Regions from separate parts of the Homo sapiens genome. Here regions 2, 3 and 4 are each linked to region 1. Evidence: promoter capture Hi-C in human tissues and cell types (Jung and others, 2019). All regions are on one chromosome and are shown on one strand. Each heading gives the region's core, a stretch centred on a gene start or on the middle of the fragment in contact. The rest is flanking DNA. Distances are from core to core; before and after follow the strand shown.

Evidence for each region. The method cuts DNA at HindIII sites, captures the fragments that hold promoters and counts their contacts. A contact is called where the count stands out against the background at its distance.
Region 2: a fragment that was not itself captured here is called in contact with the fragment with the promoter of CABYR in region 1 in 1 of the 25 tissues and cell types used here (spleen).
Region 3: a contact is called between a fragment that was not itself captured here and the fragment with the promoter of CABYR in region 1, in 1 of the 25 tissues and cell types used here (small bowel).
Region 4: a contact is called between a fragment that was not itself captured here and the fragment with the promoter of CABYR in region 1, in 1 of the 25 tissues and cell types used here (stomach).

Annotation. Positions count from the first base shown.
Region 1 is chr18:24,136,033-24,142,554 of GRCh38, reverse strand. CABYR (calcium binding tyrosine phosphorylation regulated) reads right to left here and starts at 3,493. Exons shown (of 6, transcript NM_153769.3): 1 at 3,437-3,493. RefSeq lists an enhancer at 3,849-3,908. The HindIII fragment of the contact is 11,741 bases long and covers 1-6,522 here.
Region 2 is chr18:23,923,599-23,929,599 of GRCh38, reverse strand. LAMA3 (laminin subunit alpha 3) reads right to left here. Exons shown (of 75, transcript NM_198129.4): 63 at 1,360-1,477; 64 at 835-975. Among named protein-coding and RNA genes, the nearest start is that of LINC02958, 56 kb to the left of the region's middle. The HindIII fragment of the contact is 8,922 bases long and covers 1-5,736 here.
Region 3 is chr18:24,374,555-24,380,219 of GRCh38, reverse strand. OSBPL1A (oxysterol binding protein like 1A) reads left to right here. Exons shown (of 28, transcript NM_080597.4): 2 at 2,685-2,807. The coding sequence starts at 2,687. The region is part of intron 2 of LOC124904268 (a long non-coding RNA gene); the gene reads right to left. Among named protein-coding and RNA genes, the nearest start is that of OSBPL1A, 20 kb to the left of the region's middle. RefSeq lists a silencer at 1,281-1,575. The HindIII fragment of the contact is 6,496 bases long and covers 1-5,573 here.
Region 4 is chr18:24,301,690-24,308,315 of GRCh38, reverse strand. OSBPL1A (oxysterol binding protein like 1A) reads left to right here. Exons shown (of 28, transcript NM_080597.4): 14 at 4,598-4,679. Among named protein-coding and RNA genes, the nearest start is that of MIR320C2, 17 kb to the left of the region's middle. The HindIII fragment of the contact is 5,355 bases long and covers 1-4,539 here.

The DNA of each region.
Region 1 (6,522 bases), core at 2,244-4,743:
TGAGGACATTAAAAACAAAGAACAAAAAACAAGACCTGCCTCTGTAAAATTCAGTGAATATTTTGTGCAGTTAACATTTCATGTATCTGTTTCTAAACAAGTCCTTCCAAACCACACAGGCACTGGCCCTTCTGTACATATATTCATCAAACAGTTACAAGATAAGTTTTTTTCTATAAGAAAATGTTTTTCCTTATTTTTCTAAATATATTCTCAGACATGCTGCTTTTTTTTTTGAGATGGAGTCTCGCTCTGCCACCCAGGCTGGAGTGCAGTGGCGTGATCTCAGCTAACTGCAACCTCCCCTTCCTGGGTTCAAGCAATTCTCTGCCTCAGCCTCCCGAGTAGCTGGGATTACAGGTACTGGCCACCACGCCCGGCTAATTTTTGTATTTTTAGTAGAGACAGGGTTTCACCATCTTGGCCAGGCTGGTCTTGAACTCCTGACCTTGTGATCCACCCACAGGCTCCCAAAGTGTTGGGATTACAGGCATGAGCCACCGTGCCCGACCATTGCTCATGTTTAAGTGTGCATTTTTTAGCTTTAAATTTTGGGGTTTTTTCAGCCTGCTTTGTACCTGCAGGAATAACTTTGTTTTTAACATTAATCAGTGTGAGTATAATTTATTTGTGGTATTATTATACCACCCACTGTCATTTGTACCTTTCGTTTCTCATATCTCCCTTACCCTCTTCCCAAATTTTCCCTTATGTTTCCCCTTCTGCCTTTCTGCCTTTTAAGTGGTATCAGAGATACTGCACAGACCAACCTGTAATTCTCAGAGTTGCAGAGGCTGCCACCTGAAACTGTGTCAGGGTGTATGTATTCTGACTCCTAAAAAATCACCTAAGGCTTCTAAAGAACAAAATTAAATATTTAAGAAAATCCCTAGGAAAACTAAGATAGGAAAAACAAGGTGAAGCTACAGGTAAAGTTAGCACTCCAATGCATGCCATAGCTCCTTCACTTTGATAAAGATGGGCATCAAATCGGCCCCTAAGCTACCAAGCAGCCATCACAAAATAGGAGATAGGTGGTTAAATGATTCAGGTTTCTTGAGGTGAAAAACACATCAGTTGTATGGGAGAACCACAGCTATTCTGGATACTGAAACCCAGGAGAAATTTCTCCCCCAAGTCCTTATAAAGCAAATAGTGTGATATAATGAACCATGTCCTCAACAACATCCCTACAGTAAATAATGAGTTTCACGGGGTTAAGTGGCATAGTTCAGTTACAACAATTATAGAAGGGCACAGCTTCTATTATAAAGTAACGAATATCTCATAGCAAAATGTTCAATACTTAAAAACACATCTCATCTTCCCAAAGGTCAGGACAAAATGAATCTGTACTGGCCAAAGCAAATCCTTTCAGTATATAATTAAGTATAATTGAATCCCTTAATGAAAACTTCCTTTTACGATATCATTCAACAGATTTACTGAATTAAACCATCTTTAAAAAACCAGAAGTGATCCAGCAATCCCACTGCTGGGTATATACCCAAATGGAAATCAGTATACAGAAGAGATATCTGCACTCCCATGTTTGTTCCAGCACTGTTGACAATAGCTAAGATTTGGAAGCAACCTAAGCGTCTATCAACAGATGAATGGATAAAGAAAATGTGGTACATACATACAATGGAGTACTATTCAGCCATTAAAAAAGAATGAGATCCTGTCATTTGCAACAAAGTGGATGGAACTGGAGATTATTATGTTAAATGAAGTAAGTGAGGCACAGAAAGGAAAACATTGCATGGTCTCTTATTTGTGAGAGCTAAAAATTGAAACAATTGAACCCACGGACATAGAGAAGGATGGTTACCAGAAGCTGGGAAAGGTAATGGGGCCTGGGTGGGGGAGGGGGAAAGTGGGGCTGGTTAATGGGTATAAAAAATGAATAAAACCTACTACTTGAAAGCACAACAGGGTGTCTATAGTCAATAATTGTACATTTTAAAATAACAGAAAGAGTATAACTGGATTGTTTGTAACACAAAGGATAAATGTTTGAGGGGATAGATGCCCCATTCCCAATGTGATTAACATTGTATGTCTGAATCAAAACATCTCATGTGCCCCATAAATATATACACCTACTGTGTACTCACAAAAAAAGAATTTTTTAAAAAATCAGAAGTGGGGATTCCGCAGTCCCACATGCTAAATGCTAAGGGGCATAGGCAGCATGACATGTTTGATACATACATACTATTTGATACATATATATATTTGATACATACTCATATATATCATATGTCTAATTTTCTTTAAGTACCCAAAGTGAGTAGATAGACCGTTTTGAAAGTGGCTCCCAGAGGCCGGGCGCGGTGGCTCACGCCTGTAATCCCAGCACTTTGGGAGGCCGAGTCGGGCGGATCACGAGGCGAGGTCAGGAGATGGAGACCATCCTGGCTAACACGGTGAAACCCCGTCTCTACTAAAACAAAAAATCAGCCGGGCGTGGTGGCGGGTGCCTGTAGTCCCAGCTACTCGGGAGGCTGAGGCAGGAGAATGGCGTGAATCCGGGAGGCGGAGCTGACAGCCGAGATCGCGCCACTGCACTCCAGCCTGGGTGACACAGCTAGAGTCCGTCTCAAAAAAAAAAAAAAAGAATAAAAAAGAAAGTGGCTCCCAGAAACCATGATGGCGCCAACAACCTTTCAGGAGGCAGTTAGCAGTTGGTGCTACCAAAGGTGGGGACAGCGGCCATGCACTCCATGATCCCCCGTCCCACTAGTTCTCACCCCGACTTTGGGAACGTGTGGGGCCAGGGACGCTAAACGTCCTACAGTTCAGTTCCCCACAAAGAACTGTCCTAAGCAAGCTGAGAAAAGTCAACGGGTAAAATTGTCACAAACACTATTAGGGTTATTTAAAAGCGACAGCTTAATAATTCTTCCCAGATCTCTCCTATCACCAATACTGGTCCACCACTGGCGGAATTTAAATCCTGCCCCGCCCAACTGTAAACGTCCATGCGCCCACTACCACAAGGGTAACGCCTTAAGCGAGAAATACGATGCCTTTCAGGATGCCAGCGGGGACTTCGGAGCCATAGGTAACCGCACTCCCCGACCTCTCCCTAAAGAACCTCCGGGATGTGGGCCCCCGCTGTGTCAGTGCTCGTTTTGCGCTAGGTCTGTTTGGGAGAGACGGGAGTGAAATGTAGGAGGCTGGGCGTGCTCACATCGCCTGGACTTGTCCAAGAGAGGCGGGCGACGGACCCACCGAGGCCTCAGATTCGGCAGCTGGCCGTCTGGTCGCCGCACTCCCCGGTGTGGGCCGGGGCCGCCCCACAGGCCCCCCACCCCCGACTCTGAGGACCCTCCGCCTGCCCCGACGACCTCTCCCACTGCGAGAGACTCCCTGAGACATAATGGTCTCCGAGGCCGCAGGGTGCGCCTTTTCTCCAGATTCTCCCCACCTGCTTTCCGGCCGCGCTCTTAAGAGCTTCCTCGTTGCCCCCTTGCCGGCGGCTCCTGAGGAGACTTGGCGCTTGCGAGCGTTTTTATAGCCCCGCAGGCATCGGGGCGTGCATCACGAAGCTCCGCATCACAAAGCTCCGCACCACTCAAGGAGGCGGGGCCACAGCGGCCGCAGCCAATGGGGAGCCGAAAGCGACAAAGGCCATGATTTGGCCGGCGAGGGAGACTTATTTCCCCTTTTCTGGCTAAATCTGAACGGATTTAGGTGATTTCCCAACAAATAGCCAGGAGTAGCTCAAAGCGACTGCCTCTCCGTCTTTGGTCGTTGAGCTTAAAATTAGAGCTCGTTTGGAAAGAAAGTAAGAGATTTATGGCAGTGCTGTCTTGTCACTGCCTCGCCATTCCACACATTGCTCCTGGCCCCATAAACTATAGCTCTCTTCGGTCACCTTTAGGAATAATAATTTCTGCCACGTTGTAGACACACAGTGAATAATTGTATGCAACAGAGCACTTTTTCTTTTGTGAAACTCGCCTGTGGAATGGGAGTTCAGCATGAATCCAGAAACTTCCTGTTTCTCCACAGTTGAGATCAGACACCAACTATCCCCACAAAGCACACCGTCAGCAACAAGTCAAGGTGTTACTGTGTGTAACTTCAGCTCAATTTTACCAAACTAAAGGAATACTGCTTCATTTAAAAACGCCCACTCTGCCGGGCACGGTGGCTCACGCCTGTAATCCCAGCACTTTCGGAGGCCGAGGCGGGTGGATCACGAGGTCAGGAGTTCAAGACCAGCCTGGCCAAGATGGTGAAACCCTGTCTCTACTAAAAATACAAAATATTAGCCGGTCGTGGTGGTGGGTGCCTGTAATCCCAGCTACTCTGGAGGTTGAGGCAGAGAATTGCTTGAACCTGGGAGGCGGAGGTTGCAGTGAGCCCAGATCACACCACTGCACTCCAGCCTGGGCTACTGAGCGAGACTCCGTCTCAAAAAAACAAAAAACAAAACAAAAAAAACAAAAAAACGCCCACTCTCTGCTCTTTCACTCATTTAGGCTCAGGTATTTGGGCTGGGCTCTAAATAACACCATAATCATGATTATCAGAGTACAAGCAGCCTTAATTTTGATCCATCTTCAAATGTTTAAAAAGCAACTACTTTAAACCAAAGAGCATCGCCAGGGCAGATATCTGACCAAAAACAAAACAAAACAAAACAAAAACCAAACCAAAATAAAACAAAACCCTATTTTTTAATTCAGAAAAAATTAGGGCTTCCAGAGCACTTTGCAATAAAAGCAATGTTAAGGCCTCAGTCAGCATTATCTGGTGCCATTCATTAATCCACTTAATAATTATTTTACTGAGTGCCAGGAAAGCTCCCTCTTCTCGGGAAGTTTACATACTTAAAAAGGGAGAATTAGCGAGACTCCGTCTCACAAAACAAAACAAAAAAAAGGGAGAAATGCTTTTAGACTGAGTATGTTGGTGGGTCTGCAGATATTTTTCATCCTTCATCACTTGCCTCCAGCACCACTTTGGTAATGTAAATAAAAGTGAGATGAGGCTGTCATGATTTCTGATAGCTTGGTTTATAACACATTTAGGTGTCAGAGACATAATGAACTGAGCTACTGAAAATCCTAAGTACCTCATCTATGGTGTCTTTTGGAATTGGAGACATTTATGGTTTTTTTAACGTAACCTTGGTGGGTCATCTCAAACATCTATTAGGTGTAAGGTATTATGCAGAAATACCTGTAACTCAAAAAACAAGATTTTACTCTCCATTTCTTCAGTGACTGTTTGGCTGAGTCATTCTGAAATGCAAATTGTTACAATGTAAACATCTAACCAAGAATTTTCAAACCACTGCCCATCGCTGCTTTGATTTCTTGAACTCTTAATGATTTGATGTGGTTTCACAATCTTGGCTTGTGTTCATCTCCCTTTCAATCACCAGTATGTTATTTTTTGGTCACCAATGATTTAAAACGCAAATGTACCTTCCACTGCCCCTCTCCCACACCCCAAATCCTTACCCTATGGAAGTCCATGGTTGTGGGTGTGGCCTCTGCATACCTCTCGTATTTCATGTCTCACCATGTGATTCCCACTTGACCCTCCAGAGTCTTGAACACACATGTCGCTTATCACCTCTGTGCTTTTGCTCATTAGGTCCAAGGCCTTGGATGCTGCTCCAGCAAGTGTTTTCACCTGACTGCATCCTGCTTCTCCTTTAGAACTCATCTCAGAAATCTCCTACTTTAGGAAGCCAGTGGGTTAGAAGCATTTTCTCAGTGGCCCCATGATGTATGCTCTATGACTTATCCTTGCTATATAATTCTATATAATTCTGCTTGTGTTTGACTCTTCTCCCAGATTTACCAAATCCTTAACAAAAGATGAATAGGGCAATGTTTCTCTAATCCACATCACCTGCATAAGAAATCATCCCAGGAGCTTGTTAAAAATGCCTTCCCAAGCCCTACCTAGAACCTACCAAACCAGAATCTCTATGTAAAACACGGAAATTGACAACCACTGGCCTCTGGGAGGAGGAATTAGGCATTACATAGAGGTCACCTGGGTTTCAAGTGTGTTGCTTCTATTTCATACCCAAGTCAACTAGGTGACAGAGATCAGCCCCCTTGCTAGCTTTCACAAGAAAGCCAGTTAAATTGTGCTCTTGGTGATTTCTGCATACTTTACTGAAAAAGGAGCATTATCTGTTATGGACCAACTTTCTCTTGCTCCCCTTATCCTTCTCTCTTTCTGCATTTCCTCTTCTAGCTTCTAAAGTATCTGCCTCGACTATGTATCTTCTTGGATGATCTCGATTTAACAATTTTCTTTCTACAAAATATACCATCTGCAGAAACCAAAACAGTACATCATGATTTTGTGAATGTGTATCTTCATAGTGAAAACCGTATTTGAATACTTGCCACCATGATTTGCTTAAGGAAGAAATCCACTGGAAAAGTTTACACAGCAAAGGTGTGTGTCTGCGTGTGTGTGTGTGTGTGTGTGCATGCCTGTGCATGTGCTCATTTTAAAAATCAGATATGACTTGTCCTT
Region 2 (6,001 bases), core at 26-2,525, 210 kb after region 1:
CCACAGAGTCAGCCACCAAGAGAGGGGCGGCCTTCCTAGTATTACAGAGCCACAGAGTCAGCCACCAAGAGAGGGGCGGCCTTCCTGATATTACAGAGCCACAGAGTCAGCCACCAGCCATTTTCTTGACAGATACTAGAAGTCTGCTGTGCTCTGCAATCCTAAAGAAACAAATTCAGAAATAATCATACTCTACTTCTATTTAAAAATTCCACTCATTCCACAAATATTCATTTCTAAATATTAGGTGACTTCTGTATCTACATAACCACACTAGCTAAATCTGCTTAAGTTACAGATGGTATCTCCTTGTGGAAGAGAATTTATGTGGCTCTGTTGTACATGAGGAAAGAGAAAAGGATCTTATTTTCTCCAATTCCCCAGGTATAAATATTGTCCAACTAGCTGCTGCTGCTGCTGCTGCAAAAAGGCAATCTGGAGAGAGCTACCTTTAATGCAATCAAAAAGAAATCATAGGGACACACTCTGATTTTCTTTCTGAGCTCTGAAACTTTAAGCTACATTATTAACTACAGTAGTTATAATCCACCTTAACTCTTATTATAAAATATACCTGAAAAGAATAAAAATGAGTCCGCGAGTACACACAAATGCAACTCTGTAAATTATAATGTTACTTTCTAAACTTGATTTCTTTGAGGACCTACCCCAGAGTGGGGAATAACGTTTATGGTTGAACTATACAATAGCATTTACTGTGTGATGATAGAAAAAATGTACAACTCCACCACTTTCTAAATCTCTCTGTTGTTTTTAACATCAAACTTTGAGTCAGGTTTAAATCTTGTTTGATATTAATGCACTACTGCATACCCATGTCTGATGATCTAATAATATGCCACTGGGTTGAAAGGTCTGAAATCCAAATGAGGCCTGGAGGTGGTCAGTAGGTGGTAAGCCCAAATCAGTGAAACTCAATTGTCCTCCTCTGGAGAATGAGGCAGATCGCACAAGCTGAAATGCAAACATGGAATAAATTACTGGCATTGTAATCATTTCTTGGCTGAAATACAGTACCTTACCCTATCTCACTTTACTCAAACTGATTAATGTGATTTATGTAACCTCAGAAAGAAAGAGAGCTTACTTTTCTGCATAATAAGTCAGCAATCATCTGTAAGTTTTTGTGTATATAGTTGGTCTTCCTACTTTCCTACAAAGTTAATGTGCAAACCTGAAAAGGTTCAGCATCTTGCAAGCACATGGGGAGTGTATATGAGCCAGTTCACTGTAACACTGTGTGCTATCAGAAAGAAGTCAAAAGTTGCTGCGTTAATGGATACGGAAGGTGGGTTGGCTGGGAAGCACTCCTTCACGAGGTTCTGAACTTTCACTTACCTTCCAGTCTTCCGAGCACTTTTTGGTTACTCCCACAGTATCATTCAATCTAACGACACCACTGGTTTTCTTCAAATTTTTCATGCAGCCTCGGAAAGCAGGCGTAGAAATGTTAAATCTGATTACGAACACAGATAAAAGGAAGAGATGGATCATGTCAGGCTCACGTGAAATCAGAGCTGAAACGCTGTGCTCTTTAGTACTTTTCACCCATAAATGAGTAGGTGTTTTATGTTTATCCTTTCCCATGGGATTCCCATAATGCTACTTATTTTATGATGCTGGGAGAACTGACTTCCTTTCTGTGTAAGTTTACATTCCCAGCTTTAAAAATGCAGACAACAATGTTAACAGAAGAATGGCCAGTGGCCGCAAAAGGTAAAGAGACAGAGAACATGCACAATATCTAGAACTGCCCGTCCCTCCCCGCTGGAGTCACGGCATTGCAGGTGGATAGGACATGTATTAATAAGTTAATAGATGATATATGATATACATATATATTAATAAAGTAATAAATCATTTGTAGGAACCAGGAGTGCTCTAGAAAACCTTTTGCTCTTTTTTTTCTGTTCACTGTTAAGTTAGCCACTGTAAAGTCAGAAGAAACAAAGTGTTACTTTTTGGTTCTATTCAATTATGAAAAACGTAGCTTGATTTAACCAATGCCAAGCTGAAACAATGGAACACATTGTCTGGGTTCATATGCTGCTGTATCTACCACCTCCTACCTGTGGGCAAAGGGTTATTGCCAGGATTTAAAAAATTAACGGGCCGGGTGGGGTGGCTCATGCCTGTAATCCCAGCACTTTGGGAGGCCAAGTCAGGTGGATCACTTGAGGTCAGGTGTTCGAGATCAGGCTGGTCAACATTGTGAAAACTTAACTCTACTAAAAATACAAAAATTAGCTGGACGTGGTGGCAGGCACCTGTAGTCCCAGCTACCCGGGAGCTGAGGTTGGAGAATCATCTGAACCCGGGAGGCGGAGGTTGCAGTGAGCTGAGATCGTGCCACTGTACTCCAGCCTGGCAACAAAGCGAGACTCTGCCTCAAAAAACAAAAACAAAACCAAAAAAACAAGTTAACGTACAGCAAGAGCTTGCAGCAGTGCATGGCACCTGGACGTGAATGCTCAGCAGGTGTTTCTGAGAGGCAAAATTGTGCTGCTCTGGACCAGCCAAATTGCCTGGGTTCAAGTTCTGTCCCTTCTGATTGAACAGGCAACTTTTCTCCGTGCCTGTTTCCTCATTTAGACAATGGGAATATGTGAATCTGTTTCATAGGGCTGTCATAGTCTAAGAAAGTTAATATGTGTAACACACTCAAACAGTGTTTTGTACAGAGTAAGGACTCAATGTGAGATCGTCAAGTTAGTAACTACTCCCATATTACTGCTCTTATATAATGAGAGCAATTTCTAAAGCAGCTCTTTCTACATGGCCCCAGGGCATTTCCCCTTCGATTTGACTTCTGGATCTGTCTGGAGCTGAATGCACATAAAGCATTCACACACATGAACTAACTGAAGTCCAGGCAAATATTTGTGTTTCTTAAACAAATGATGTACTAAGAAAACCCAAAGCTGATTTCATTCTAAATCCCTAATGCAGCTTACTTTTCTAAATGGAAAGGTGTCTGCATTCATTTTAATCCAATTCATTAGAAACAGTTGAGCTACCTGTAATAGACCTAAAATTAAATTTCATTAAAAGGAAAAGAAAGAAACAAATCCTCACTGGCATTACAGTATAAGCCTAATTATTTTATAAAGATGGCCTTTTGCCTCAGAAGAGGAGGAGGGTTCATTTCCATTCCTGGAGCTTGCCTATTTATACATGGTTTTAGGTCAATTCTTCTTTGGGTTTCAACATATCTCTTGGACAACGACATTCCAGATGTCCCTCTCTCCATAGATTATTGGTCAAAGAAAGAAGGTTGCAGAAAAGGAAAATAGTAGGAGAGAAAGGCAGTTAACAGATACAGACCACCTATTTTGCACGAAGCTCTATGAATCCAACTTACAATAAGCTTTTGAGGGAGGTATTTTCTCTTTTATATTATTTTATTTTATTTTAAGTTCTAGGATACATGTGCAGGAAGGGCAGGTTTTCTTATCTAACATTTATTGAGCACTGACCATGTGCTGACCTCTGCTAATTCCTTTACACACTCTGAATCTTCCAACCACCCTAAGAGATAGGCAGCTACTATGCCCATACTATAGATGTAGCAATGAGGCATTAAGAGGTTAAGGCCTTGCCTAAGGTCACACAGCTGGTAAGTGGTAGAGCTGGGGTCTGTACTGTCAGTGTGTCACACAGGTTAGTGAGGCTTGAAGCCCTTGCTTTTTACACTTACAGTTGGTATTCCTGCAGCACTTGGAAGTGATCATGCCTTTTTCTAGAAGAGTTACCTACAGCAGAAGTGTTAAAATGGAAGAGATTTACTTCCACTATTCCTGGGGGGATTCTTGTTACCTTGGCTTACCTGAGGACCTACAGTTCTACATTTACTCCAGGATACAGGGTCTGAACATACTTGCTAGAGGAATGTGATTGCACTGGGGCATGAGTTGTTGTGTTGGTGGGTTCCTGCGTTGGGGTATTTATGTATACTTTGGGCCAATCTGTCCACAAAAGCTTAGCCAGCTCCATGGCTGTTGCAGGCCGACTTCAGAGAGCAAAAAGAACAAAAGGCAGCCCTAATCTTGGTGTTGGGTACTTAGTCGATGTTCAATAGATCTACTTTTTGGATCATTTTCATTTTAGTGTGTATAATCACACTCTGTAAACAATGGTGTAGGTCCTCAAGAAAAATGCCCTTGTTGGTGTCACACCCTCTGGCATTACCAGGGATGATTTGCTCTTCTCCTGGGTAGGAGATGGGATTAACAGAATGATTTCTGATTATAATCGGAAACAAGCCATTCCAAGATCTGGGTCCCCATTCCCAGAAGAAACACTACAGTGAGAGGGGGAAGAAACAAAACGTGCACAAAATCCCTTGAGCAAAGCTGATTTAGTGATTACACTTGCTTGCCTTGCTCCAGGTTAGGTTTGAGAACTTTGTCTAAAAGGTCCCTCCATTTATGCCAGGGACCAGAACACCTCCCTGCTCTGGAAGCGTTGGCTGGTTGCCCCTACAGAGCTTGGCTGTGGATTATCCATGGAACTCCTCTGTGCCCACCCCACCTCCCAGTGACTCATGCCCAATGGCAGTTTCAGGAATCTCTGGGCCACCAAAGACTTCACCACAGGGATGAGGCAACACCCAGAACAGCTGACTATTCCTTAGAATTTTGCTTTAGAGGGAGTGAAGGGCCAGTGAAATCTTTTGACTGGCCTCTATCTCCTGCATTTTCCATGTTCCAGTGATTTTAATAAAAAGTCAAAATATAGGCTGTGCATGGTGGCTTATGCCTGTAATCCTAACACTTTGGGAGGCAGAGGCAGGTGGATCACCTGAGGTCAGGAGTTCGAGACCAGCCAGACCAACATGGCAAAACCCCGTCTCTACTAAAAACACAAAATTAGCCGGGCATGGTGGCAGGCACTGTAATCCCAGCTACTCGGGAGGCTGAGGCAGGAGAATTGCTTGAACCCGGGAGGTGGAGGTTGCAGTAAGCCGAGATTATGCCATTGCATTCCAGCCTGGGCAACAAGAGCAACACCTCGTCTCAAAAAAAAAAAAAAAAAAGAAAAAAAAAGGTCAAAGTATAAAACTTGCCCAGAAAAAGGAAGCAGTCCCTTGTTTGGAGGATCCCAAAATAAGTTACTAAGAAAATTCTAGGCCAGGCATGGTGGCTCATGCCTGTAATCACAGCATTTTGGGAGGCCAAGGTGGGTGGACTACCTGAGCTCAGGAGTTCAAGACCAGCCTGGACAACATGGGGAACCCCGTCTCTGCTAAAAATACAAAAAATTAGCCAGGCATGGTGACACATGCCTGTAATCCCAGCTACTCAGGAGGCCAAGGTAGGAGAATCACTTGAGCCCAGGAGGCAGAGGTTGCAATGAGCCAAGATGGCGCCACTGAACTCCAGCCTGGGTGACAGAGCAAGACTCTTGTCTCAAAAAAAGAAAGAAAATTCTGGACTGGGCACAGTGGCTCACGCCTGTAACCCCAGAATTCTGGGGGTGGGAGGATCACTTGAGGCTAGAAGTTCGAGACCAGCCTGGGCAACACAGCAAGACCCCATCTCTACAAAAAATTGTTTTAAAAAAGCAAATTCTCTATGTATATGCATCTCTATATCTATATATTTCTTTAATGGATGGAGATGAAAAGGCAAATAAAGGTTGAGTGCTGAATTAACCTAAAGTTTTGCTGAGCCAAAACTAAAGCCACCTCTTTTGTGGTTCTACCTACTGCTCTTTTCTAGAAAACCTGGACTGACTGGCATCCACATCACTGTCTAGGGGCCTTGTGTTAATATCATGCAAACACAAACCACCACCAATGGGTTCCTTATTGCCTCAACTTGAGAATTCCTCCTGGCTCTGGGTAAGCCCACTGGCCTCTACCACCTCAATGACTACCTGGCCCTGAGCTTCATTTACCCTTCTCCAGACTGGCCTCCTTTCTGGAGGCCCAGGCCATTTTGTGCGCCTGCTTGTGGGCCTCTCCACCTGGCTGTGTCTC
Region 3 (5,665 bases), core at 1,076-3,575, 240 kb before region 1:
TTGCATGGGAAATAAATTTACATACTGGTATATTTTAAAATGTCCTTATTCTACTCCTACTTTTGATTGGCTGGTTATAGAATTGGGGATTGGAAATAATTTTCCTCCAGAACTTTTAGGTATTGCTTTGTTGTCTTTTGGATGCTTATGTTGTGATAGAGAAGTCAAAATCATTCTGATTCCTGCTCTTTTGTTTATTACCTGATATCTTTTGTTACCAAAGTTCTAAAATTTCATGATGATGTGCTTTCATAGGTTCTATTTTGTCTGTAGATCAGAAATCTTCCAGAATTGTTGGGCTCTCATTAGGCCTTTCAATGCTGTAAGACTTCCTTAAATTCTTTTTTTTAAGACGGTGTCTTGCTCTGTTTCCCAGGCTGGAGTGCAGTGGCGTGATCTCAGCTCACTGCAACCTCTGCCTCCCAGGTTCAAGCGATTCTCCTGCCTCAGCCTCCCGATATAGCTGGGACTACAGGCCTCCCCTACCACACCTGGCTAAATTTTTTTTTTTTATTTTTAGTAGAGATGAGGTTTCACCGTATTAGGCTGGTCTCAAACTCCTGGCCTCAAGTGATCCTACCACCTCGGCCTGCCAAATAAATTCTTTATTTTCTCTGTCTCTCTGTTTTCTTTTTTTAGAACTTCGTTTCAATGTTTGACCTCCTGGACCAATTCTCTTAACATTCTTTTTTTTTTTTTTGAGACCAAGTCTCACTCTGTCACCCAGGCTGGAGTGCAGTGGCATGATCTCAGCTTACTGCAACCTCCACCTCCCAGGTTCAAGTGATTCTCCTGCCTCAGCCTCCTGAGTAGATGGGGTTACAGGTGTGCACCAGCAGACCCAACTAATTTTTGTGTTTTTAGTAGAGTTGGGGTTTCACCATGTTGTCCAGGCTGGTCTTGAACTCCTGGGCTCAAGTGGTCCACCCGCCTCGGCCTCTCAAAGTGCTGGAATTACAGGCATGAGCCACTGTGCCTGGCCAACATTCATCTTTTATCTCCCATTTTCTTAACATTTTATTTTCTAGGAGATATTCTCAACTTATTTTCCAACTCTTTTATTGAAGTTTTAATTTTTGCTATTTTTATTTCCAAAGTTCTTTTTCTCAAGCTTTATTTTTTTTTAATAGCATCTTGTTTTTGTTACAGGACAGAATGTCATTTATTATCTAAGGATATTAGTTATTATTTTTTAACATTTTCTTTGATACCTTGTTTTCTCTAGGTTGCTTTTCTTCCCTGTTTGGTTTTGGTCTTTGTCTTTCATGTTTAAGAGTGGGGAGCTAGAAAGTTGATTGAAAACTGAGAGAGTGGGTGGGCCCTGTTGACTGCTAACTTCATTGTAAGGTTTGCCTGGCTTGACCACTTGCTGGGACCTCCTGGTGTCTCTCTTGTACTTTAGGGAATATAACCAGCTAAGTCTCATAGAGGGTAAAGCCTGGCTTGCCTGCATAAGAAATGCCGATTAGGGCAAGAGGGCTGGAGACAAGCTGTTTGCTCTGCTCTGTTTTGAAACCATGCCTTCAAAACCCATCCAGTCACCAGCCTATACAGCCCATCTCTTTTAGCCTCACTGGAAGATGTATTTAACCAGTCCCCTGTTGATGACATGGAGTGGTTTCTAACTTTTCCACTATTACAAATAATGTAATCTTTATAAGCATGGTTTCAAAATAATCTTGTATAAGATGACAGCAAAAGTGAGGGGAAAAATAAACATTGAAATAAAAATCTTGTGTAAATGTTTTTGCAGGATAGATTTCTAGAAATAGAGTTGCCTAGACAAAGTAAATGGTATATATGAATTTTGAAGTTTATTTGATATTGCCAAATTGCTGATCTCCACCTGTAATGTATGAAAGGTTGTATGCATTTATATTCATTTTAGCAGTCTACAGGAGTGCTATTTCCTGCCCATGCCAGCATTGTTTCTTGTCTTTTTTTATTTTTGCTAATTCAATGGGCATGAAAAATATCACTTGTGTTTGAATGATTTTTATTTATTTGATTATTAGTAAGAATGACATACTTCTGGGAATTGCTATTTGTAATATTTGCTCATTTTGACATAAATGCTTGAAATTTGGTTGTAATTTTCTATATTTGGTTTGGGGCTTGATAAGAAAATGTGACAGAAAAAATAAATTTGTTTACATATAGCCACTTCAGGGCATTTATCTATAATGAGTTTCTATTCAGAATGATTCTTTGCACAGTTTTGAATGTGTTAGTTTACATGTTAGTCTTACACTATTCCTATATGAATGGTCATATAGGAAATAAAGTCATACTTTGACTTTATCTCTAATTTTGTTTTTTCCTTTTATGTCTAATTTTTAATGTAATAACTATTTGCATAATACTATGTATTTGACAGAATGCTTTCACATACATAATCTTACAACAAACAGCTTATGCGGTTGGTTGTATTCTGCAGATGAGGAAACTAAGGCCTTAAGAAGTTAAGAGACTTGCCCAAGTGTCTCCTGTACTGCTTCAATAATAATAGGAAGGGCAAGGGGTCTCAGGCTCAAGTTCTCACCCTGCAACGGATTTATTCAGTTGTTGTGTCTGTCTTATCAGCTGCAAAATGAGGATTCTTTCCCCTTTCTGTATTAGCAGGTGATATCTAAAAGCTAATTATGTTCTTAAATAATAGCAATGTTATTATTTTCTTAATTTAGAAATGAACACAGAAGCGGAGCAACAGCTTCTCCATCACGCCAGAAATGGCAATGCTGAAGAAGTAAGACAACTATTAGAGACCATGGCGAGGAATGAAGTGATTGCTGACATTAATTGCAAAGGTAAACTTTGAATGGATTTTGTAGCTTTCTCTTATGAGTCTGCACTACTCTTAGCATTTATTTAATGCTAACCTTTCTTATCTATCATGTAATTAATCTCTATCTCTCATGCTAGGAAGAACCCCACAGATTGGAGGAAATGTCTCTCCTAGCCCCCTCTGAGTCAGAGAAAGTGACATAAGAATTTTAAATTCTTAAAATTGTTATGGATCCCAAATATTACAAGCCACAAGGGTGGCTCTAGCCCACAGGATACATCCTATTGAGAGGTGACAGCGTGCTGGCAGTCCTCACAGACCTCGCTCGCTTTCGGGCCTCCTCTGCCTGGGCTCCCACTTTGGCGGCACTTGAGGAGCCCTTCAGCCCATCGCTGCACTGTGGGAGCCCCTTTCTGTGCTGGCCAAGGCTGGAGCCGGCTCCCTCGGCTTGCAGGGAGGTGTGGAAGGAGAGGCGCTAGCGGGAACCAGGGCTGCGCGCGGCGTTTGCGGGCCGGCTGGAGTTCCGTGTGGGCGTGGGCGTGGGCTTGGTGGGCCCCGCACTGGGAGCAGCCGGCCGGCCCTGTCGGCCCCTGGCAATGAGGAGCTTAGCACCCGGGCCAGCGGCTGCGGAGGGTGTACTGGGTCCCCCAGCAGTGCCAGCCCACCGGCGCTGCGCTGGATCTCTCACCGGGCCTTAGCTGCCTTCCTGCGGGGCAGGGCTCAGGACCTGCAGTCGGCCATGCTTCAGCCTCCCACCCCCTCCATGGGCTCCTGTGCGGCCCAAGCCTCCTCGATGAGCACTGCCCCCTGCTCCACAGCGCCCAGTCCCATCCACCACCCAAGGGCTGAGGAGTGCGGGCGCATGGTGCAGGACTGGCAGGCAGCTCCACCTGCAGCCCCAGTGCGGGATCCACTGGGTGAAGCCAGCTGGGCTCCTGAGTCTGGTGGGGAGGTGGAGAACCTTTATGTCTAGCCCAGGGATTGTAAATACACCAATCGGCACTCTGTATCTAGCTCAAGGTTTATAAACACACCAATCAGCACCCTGCGTCTAGTTCAGGGTTTGTGAATGCACCAATCAATACTCTGTATCTAGCTACTCTGGTGGGGCCTTGGAGAACCTTTGTGTCCACACTCTGTATCTAGCTAACCTGGTGAGGATGTGGAGAACCTTTGTGTCTAACTCAGGGATTGTAAAGGTACCAATCAGCACCCTGTCAAAACAGACCACTCGGCTCTACCAGTCAGCAGGATGTGGGTGGGGCCAGACAAGAGAATAACAGCAGGCTGCCGGAGCCAGCAGTGGCAACTCGCTGGAGTCCCCTTCCACACTGTGGAAGCTTTGTTCTTTTGCTCTTCGCAATAAATCTTGCTACTGCTCACTCTTTGGGTCCACACTGCTTTTATGAGCTGTAACACTCACTGCGAAGGTCTGCAGCTTCACTCCTGAAGCCAGGGAGACCACGAGCCCACCGGGAGGAACAAACAACTCCAGACGCGCCGCCTTAAGAGCTGTAACACTCACCGCGAGGGTCCGCGGCTTCATTCTTGAAGTCAGTGAGACCAAGAACCCACCAATTCCAGATACACTATGATAATTTTTTTTTCTTCTTGAAGACATTGCAGTTGACCCAGCAGGTCTGAGTGTTTACTGTGTGTCTTGGAGATAATGATGAAGAGACACATGGGATCCCTGCCCTTATTGAGCTTAGTCTAGTAGATTAACAGATCAGACTAGTCTGCATTACAAAATAGGTACCAGGATCTGGAAGTGCAGGTGTCATGGGAGAGGTGTGAAACTGGAACTTGAAGGATTTGCTTCTTGGAGGAGACGATTCTAAGATGAAATGTGAAAGAGTAGGAGTTAACCAGGTGACGATAGAGAAGAAAAAATGGTTCAAGGAAGAAGAAACAACATAGCAGCCAAGTCATAATATGCCATGTGTAGCAAAGTGGCCAATACATCACAACCTTGCATCAAATGTGCAGAGAAATAAAACGTGTTCTCAAAATGGCTCTGGTATTGTAATAAACCTCTTCATGTTCTGGGAGGTATGGGGAGAGTAAACGTTAGTCTTTGGGTACTTCTGTCTTTTTTTTTTTTTTTTTTTTTTTTTTTTGAGACAGGGTTTTGTTCTGTTGCCCAGGCTGGAGTGCAGTGGCATGCTCACAGTTCATGGCAGCCTCAGACTTCTGGGCTCAAGCCTTTGTCCCACCTCAGCCTCCAGAGTAGTTGGGACTACAAGCACATGCCACCACGCCTGGCTAATTTTTGTATTTCTTGTAGAAACGGGATCTTGCTGTGTTCCCCAGGCTGGTCTTGAACTCCTGGTCTCAAGCGATCCTCTCATCTCAGCCTCCCAAAGTGTTGGGATTACAGGTGTGATCCATTGCATCTAGCCATACTTTTTTTAGTAGCCTTTTTGATAAAGTCTTGATCTCCCTTCCCCTGTGTTTCCTCTAGCTTGGTGTTTGAGTGTAGAGGTGAGACTTGCTGTGTGTTCGTGTGGTGGAGAGGCAGGTTTTCCTCGAATCTATGACTTGGCTTTGGGTCCTCAGCCACCCTTGTCTTCCTGGTGCTCCTTAAGCATTGGAAGCTGACGTGAAACTCAGGTAGAAAGTCAAACTCAGGTCTCTCAGTGTGTCGTGTGGCATAGGTAAGGCTCCTTGGCTGTATCAGGAGACTCTCATGTTGGCTTGTGTTACCCTCTGTCACATCTTCATCTGGCACCTGGCCTAGGCTTGCTGGTTCAATGCAGACACACTCCTGTTCCCTTCTTGGGAGAGTGGCATGTGGGAGCCAATGACATGGGGGAACCTAGAGCAGCTCTGGTTAGCCAAAATGCAGCCTTCCCTCAGGACACCTTACTGAGTCTGCTT
Region 4 (6,626 bases), core at 613-3,112, 170 kb before region 1:
GGCAAAACCCTGTCTCTACTAAAAATACAAAAATTAGCTGGACGTGGTGGCCCATATCTGTAGTCCCAGCTACTTAGGAGGCTGAGGTGGGAGGATCACCTGAGCCCAGGAGGTGGAGGTTGCAGTGAGCCAAGATCACGCCACTGCACTCCAGCCTGGGCGACAGAGTGAGACCCTGTCTCAAAAAAAAAAAAAAAAGTAATGAGCAGATGATGCTCGAGTTTAATGGAATGAGAAAATAAGATAAAGCTTTTCTGATTTAAGAATAAATGATTCCCGAGGCGGGCAGATCACATGAGGCCAGGAGTTCGAGACAAGCCTAGCCAACATGGTGAAATCCTGCCTCAAAAATACAAAAATTAGAAAGGCATGGTGGTGCACGTCTGTAATCCCAACTACACAGGAGCCTGAGGCACGAGAATCACTTGAACCTGCGAGGCGGAGGCTGCAGTGAGCTGAGATCGCACCACTGCACTCCAGCCTGGGCAATAGGGTGATAGAGCCAGCCTCTCTCAAAAACAACAACAAAAAAAGAATAACTGATTCCCAACTAAAATAAATGTGCAGAAAGTTGCATGTACATCCACGTGGAGCTAATAAAGATTGGTACATCCATGCAAGAATGAGGCAGATGTATATATGCTGATATATTTAAGATATACAGTTAAGTGAAAAGGACAAGGCATAAAATGATGTACCAAATATGATACTACTTGGGAGGAAAAAAAACAGGGATGTACACATATATATTTGTGTAGACTTAGATCATTCAGGAAAGATGAGAAATTAGCACTTGTTGCTCTGCAGCTGAGAAAGCTGCAAAATAAGATTGTCAAGTGTGTGAAGGAGAATTACTTTTCTCTCTATATCCTTTTGTTTTTTATTTTTACTTTATGTAAATACATATTGCAAAGTGAAACCCTAAGAAAGTTACAAAGCAGGGGCATAATAATCGCCAGATGTCAGAAAGAATAAATGTGCTTTTGGGTTGACTTAGGAAAGATGGAGTATGGGTTATTATTTTTTTCTTTTTGAGACAGGGTCTCACTTTGTCATCCAGGCTGGAGTGCAGTGGTGTGATCACAGCTCACTGCAGCATTGACCACCTGGGGTCAAGTGATCCTCCTGCCTCAGCTTCTTAAGTAGCTGAGACTATAGGCATGTGCCACCAAGCCTGGGTAATTTTTTCATTGTTTTGTTTTTGTTTTTGTTTTTTTTTTTTTGTAGAGATTAGGTCTCATTATGTTGCAAGGAAGGTCTCGAAATGCTGGGCTCAAATGATTCTTTTGCCTCAGCCTCCCAAAGTGCTGGGATTACATGCATGAGCCACCGAGCCTGGCCAGAGTATGGGGCTATCTTTGAAGTGGATTTGGCTGGAGTTAGGAAGACTTAGAGATAAGTGCTACGGCACCACTGCTTGTAATAGCGGCCATTTTCTGCAAAGAAGAAAGTGATCAGAGTTTGACAATCTATTATTTTTAAAGTTTGAATTAATATTGAAATATAATGTTTGCAGAAAAAAGGAATTCACTTTATGTCTTCAATTTGATGTATTCTGACAAATGTGTATTGTCTGTGTAACCACCACTCCTATCAAGATAGAGAACATTTTTATTATGTCAAAATGTTGTTCCCTTGCTGCTCTTCCCAGATAATACCCTCCACTTCCATCTCTGGCAACCACTGACCTAATGACACTGATATAATGACAATGTCATTATAAGCATGATCAGTTTTCCTGTTGTAGAATTTCATGTAAATGGAATCATACAGTATGTGCTCTTAGGTGTCTTTTTTCACCGTAATGTTGTGTGTATTAGTAGTTTATTCATTTTTATTGCTGAGTAGGTGGCAATCTGCTTCTGTGCTTAATTAACCAAATGTGGATTTTCTGCAGCAAATAGCCTGGAATTAATTACTTCTCTACTAGCCTATGCATTCCTCTCTAGCTATTCACCCCCTTGATATGCATTTTCGAGCTGCCCTGTAGGTTAGGGATCATAAGGTAATTTAACATCAGCTTAACTCATACAAAACCAACAGCTAAAATTTTGGTTTCTAAGCAGGAGACCTGTGTTGTAAATGTGGCTCAGCTGCTCACCTGGGGTAACTTCTGATCCTCTAGGCCCCTGTATCAATGGGTTTAATCCTTGTTCTTGTGTGCTTTGTCCAGATAACTTGGGCAAAGTTAAAATACTGTTAAACTTTAGGTATTATAACATTGCTCATAGTGAGATTCCATTTATGTAGAATAAATAAATAGAAATTAAAACTTAAAAAGAGTCCCTGTATTAGTTCGTTCTCATGCTGCTAATAAAGACATACCCCAGACTGGGTAATTTATAAAGGAAAGAGGTTTAATTGATTCACAGTTCCACATGGCTGGAGAGGCCTCACAATCTTGGTGGAAGGTGAAGGAGGAGCAAAGGCATGTCTTACATGGCAGCAGGCAAGAGAGCTTTTGCAGGGGAACTCCCCTTTATAAAACCATCAGATCCTATGCGGCTTGTTCACTATCATGAGAACAGCACAGGAAAAGCCCACCCCCATGATTCAATTACCTCCCACCGGGTTCCTCCCACAAAACATGGGGATTATTGGAGCTATAATTCAAGGTGAGATTTGGGTGAGGACACAGCCAAATCATATCAGTTCCTGACATAATATCAATGGCATAGAAGTCAAAAATGAGAAACCATGTTGGACTCTGCAAAATATTAATAAGAATTAACTTTCATAAATTGATTTTTAGTTTTTCAAAATATAACTAGTAGCGACTAAGCAAATGGGAGACCATATTATGTTTTATTATATTAATAACCTCTTCTTTTTAGTATCTTTTAGTATCAGTTAAAAAGCACTAAGTTGTTTAGAACAGAAGACATACTTTGTACACAACTTAAAACAGTATGTGTAGATTGGATCTTCTCCAGCTGACCTGTTATGTACCCTTTAAAACAAGTAAATCGTCGATCAAGGAAACTTATTAATAACTGTTAGATGGAAATATGATTCAAGGGAAGATAAATGTGATTCATGTATTTGAAGATGATGCTATAGAAGGTGTTTCCTGCCTTTAATTATAACTTAGGAAAACTATCCTGTTTATTACAGATTCATAGTCTGCAATTGAAGCCATTGCTTACTTTTATGCCTCTAGCTTACTTTCATCATAGGAAGGATAAAACAGTATCATTGACTTGCACATAAGCAGAGTATTAAATATGTATAGAGCAAGAATGATGATTTTCTATTCATCATGAGTGATGCATTTGGTTGCAGTGCATGTTTTGGTGCCTCTAGATAAACTTTTTCCCTGCCCCTCAACCTGTATTCACAGGCTGTGTCTGGAAAAATTATCAGGCATATATGGTGTTTTAAATTGCATAGTGTAGGTATTCTCCCCCTGCTCTCCACCAAGTGAATGGTACGTAGGTGTTGTTAGAGCCCTCAAAACAAAGGAGAGTAATACAAATTTTGAAGAGAATATTGCCTGTCACTAATGTGATAACATGAATAATTCTACTGTGGTTGAGTTGAACTTTGTAAGCACTAAAAAATTTATAAGGTGAAATAGGAGAAAAGAGTATTTACCTATGCCACCTTGACATACTGATCTATAGTAAGTTTGATTTTGGGGGTGCAAAATGTTTTGTGATGGGCTAGCTGAGATTAGGAGTACAAAGTAGGGAAGTTTCATAAGGCTAAATATATTACTCTACCTAAAAGAATGTGATTCGATTGTTTATAAGGTCAAGATTCTCAGAATAAATATTTTCTATTTTGATAACCAAGCAAATTTACAATAATAATTTTCTTGCTTATTCTTCCCACCTCTTTAAAGGGAAATGATATATAAAACTGCCTTCAAAATGACATTTTTAATGTAATAAATGGATTTGACTGATCTTTCATTTTGGATTTCTAAATCTGCACTAAGATGGGATGTAACTTTCATCAAGAAATTCTATATTTATGTTTTTTTGCCTTTAGGGATCTAAAAATGTAGAACTTTCAAATTACAAGGAAGAATGCTTTCTATAATTGACTTTACCTTATTTTCAGAAGCTTTGACACACTAAGAAAATGTCCTTTTTGGTTTGATGATGTGGGGGCTGTATGCACTTAGATTGCTGAACGAGAATCAGCTTGTGGTTTCCAAATGTTAGGACCATCTGGATTTTTTTTTCTGAACAAAACAGTTTTTAAAATATATTTTTAAGGAATGCATTTTATAATTTCTTGATGAATTTCATGAGGCCTACTAAAAGTGCTAATAAATCAGAGAATTATAATTCCTCAGATACACATGGCATAATGAGATAGTAATAGTAATGGATGCAATTGTATGGTATCTACACAACAGATGTTGAATGTATTTAAACCTTTAAAATATTTATTTTTACTTTACACTTGATTAAATGTTATATTCAGTTTACAAGGAAATTTTCTCTCACCTTTTTCTTTTCTTTAAGGCATATGTCTCTGTTATGGTATATCAATCTATGTACTGAAAGTTTTGATAGAAACACTAAAGCATAAGTAATGTAAAATCTTTTATTACTTTGTTTTAATTTTGTCTTTTCTTTTTTTGCAGAAAGCACAGTCATGCCAACAGCGACTAGATAGGGAAATTTCCAACTTTCTCAAAATGATTAAGGAGTGTGACATGGCTAAAGGTAAAAAGACAAGCACTATCCCTACAATCACTCTTTAACACATAGATACTGACCTGTTGTAGTTTTGTTTGACTTCATTTTTAAACAGTTTTTGGTTTTGAATTAAGAGTTATATTTGATAAAACTATTTTGAAACTTTAAAAGGGCAATTTAAAGTTTCTACTCACAGAGGATGCTTGCTTTAGAGATTAATAATGTTTTTATCCTTTTAAAAAAAGAAAGATAAGTTTAAAGTTAATGTTTTTGGCCTGTAAATTAATTTTGGCTGCGGAATGAGAATTCTGCTTATGAATCCCAGAAGACTTGGGTTTTGGAGTCAGAATGTCTAAAGCTTGAGGCCTGGCGCAGTGGCTCATGCCTGTAATCCCAGTACTTTGTGAGGCCAAGGCATGTGGATCACTTGAGGTCAGGAGTTCGAGACTGGCCTTGCCAACATGGTGAAACCCTGTCTCTACTAAAAGTACAAAAATCAGCCGGGTGTGGTGGCACGTGCTTGTAATCCCAGCTACTCGGGAGGCTGAGGCAGGAGAATCGCTTGAACCTAGGAGACAGAGGTTGCAGTGAGCTGAGAATATGCCGGTGCACCCTAGCCTGGGCGACAGAGCAAGACTCTGTCTCTCTCTCACACACACAGACACACCCACACACACACACACACAAAGAATGTCTTAGGCTTGAATCCTTACTCTTCCACTTACCGGCTGTTACTTCGAACAACACTTTTAACTCTTGCGAGCTTCAGTGCCCTCATCCATAAAATAAAGAAGTTGGTTGTTTTAGGCCTTGGCCTTTTATGCTTCTATAAATGTATATATGATCTTGTCTAGCTAATTATTAATCTTCCTTTCAGTAATAACTTTTTATGTCTTCATTCTCTATTATGAGTTCTCAAGAGTTGACTATAAATAGCCTACAAGGCTGGGCGCTGTGGCTCACACCTGTAATCCTGGCACTTTGGGAGGCCGAGGCGGTGGATCACCTGAGGTCAGGAGTTCAAGACCAGCACGGTCAACATGGTGAAACCCCGTTTCTACTAAAGATACAAAAATTAGCTGGGCGTGGTGGCACGTGCCTGTAACCATCTACTCAAGAGGCTGAGGCAGGAGAGTTGCTTGAACCCGGAAGGCGGATATTGCAGTGACCCAAGATCGCGCCACTGCACTCCAGCCTGGGCAACAGAGGGAGACTCTGTCTCAAAAAAAAGAAAAATAAATAGCCTACAAATCAAACTTAAGTATTGAGAAAAAGGTGCCTATTCCTGTGTAAATTAAAAAATTATGTTTCTTAAACTCTTAACAGATGCTTAGACTTTAGCCATGATGCATATATAAATGACTTCACCAAAGTATAAATGATGTAGTTATTTGTGAGTTTATGATTAACTTTTTTTTTTTTTTTTTCTTGAGATGGAGTCTTGTTCTGCCTCCCAGGCTGGAGTGCAGTGGCGCGATCTTGGCTCACTGCAAGCTCCGCCTCCCGTGTTCATGCCATTCTCCTGCCTCAGCCTCCAGAGTAGCTGGGGACTACAAGTGCCCGCTACCATGCCCGGCTAATTTTTTTATTTTTATTTTTAGTAGAGACGGGGTTTCACCGTGTTAGCCAGGATGCTCTCGATCTCCTGACCTTGTGATCCACCCGCGTTGGCCTCTCAAAGTGCTGGGATTACAGGCGTGAGCCACCACGCCCGGCCATGATTAACTATTTTAATCACATGTTAGTTTCCTTTAGTCAACTCCAAGATTCAGTTTCTATATTTCCAGAGAATGTGAGGAAATGTTAATATTAGAGTAAATGGACCATAAGTATTCTGTATCTGTCCAAGTGTACCTATGGCATCTCTTTACTTCAGTTGAACAAACATATATTTTTATCAGCAGTTATAGCCTTGGGAAGGGCAGTGGTTAGGTTATTTTGATTATTAGTTGCAGGCTGGAGTATTATATTACT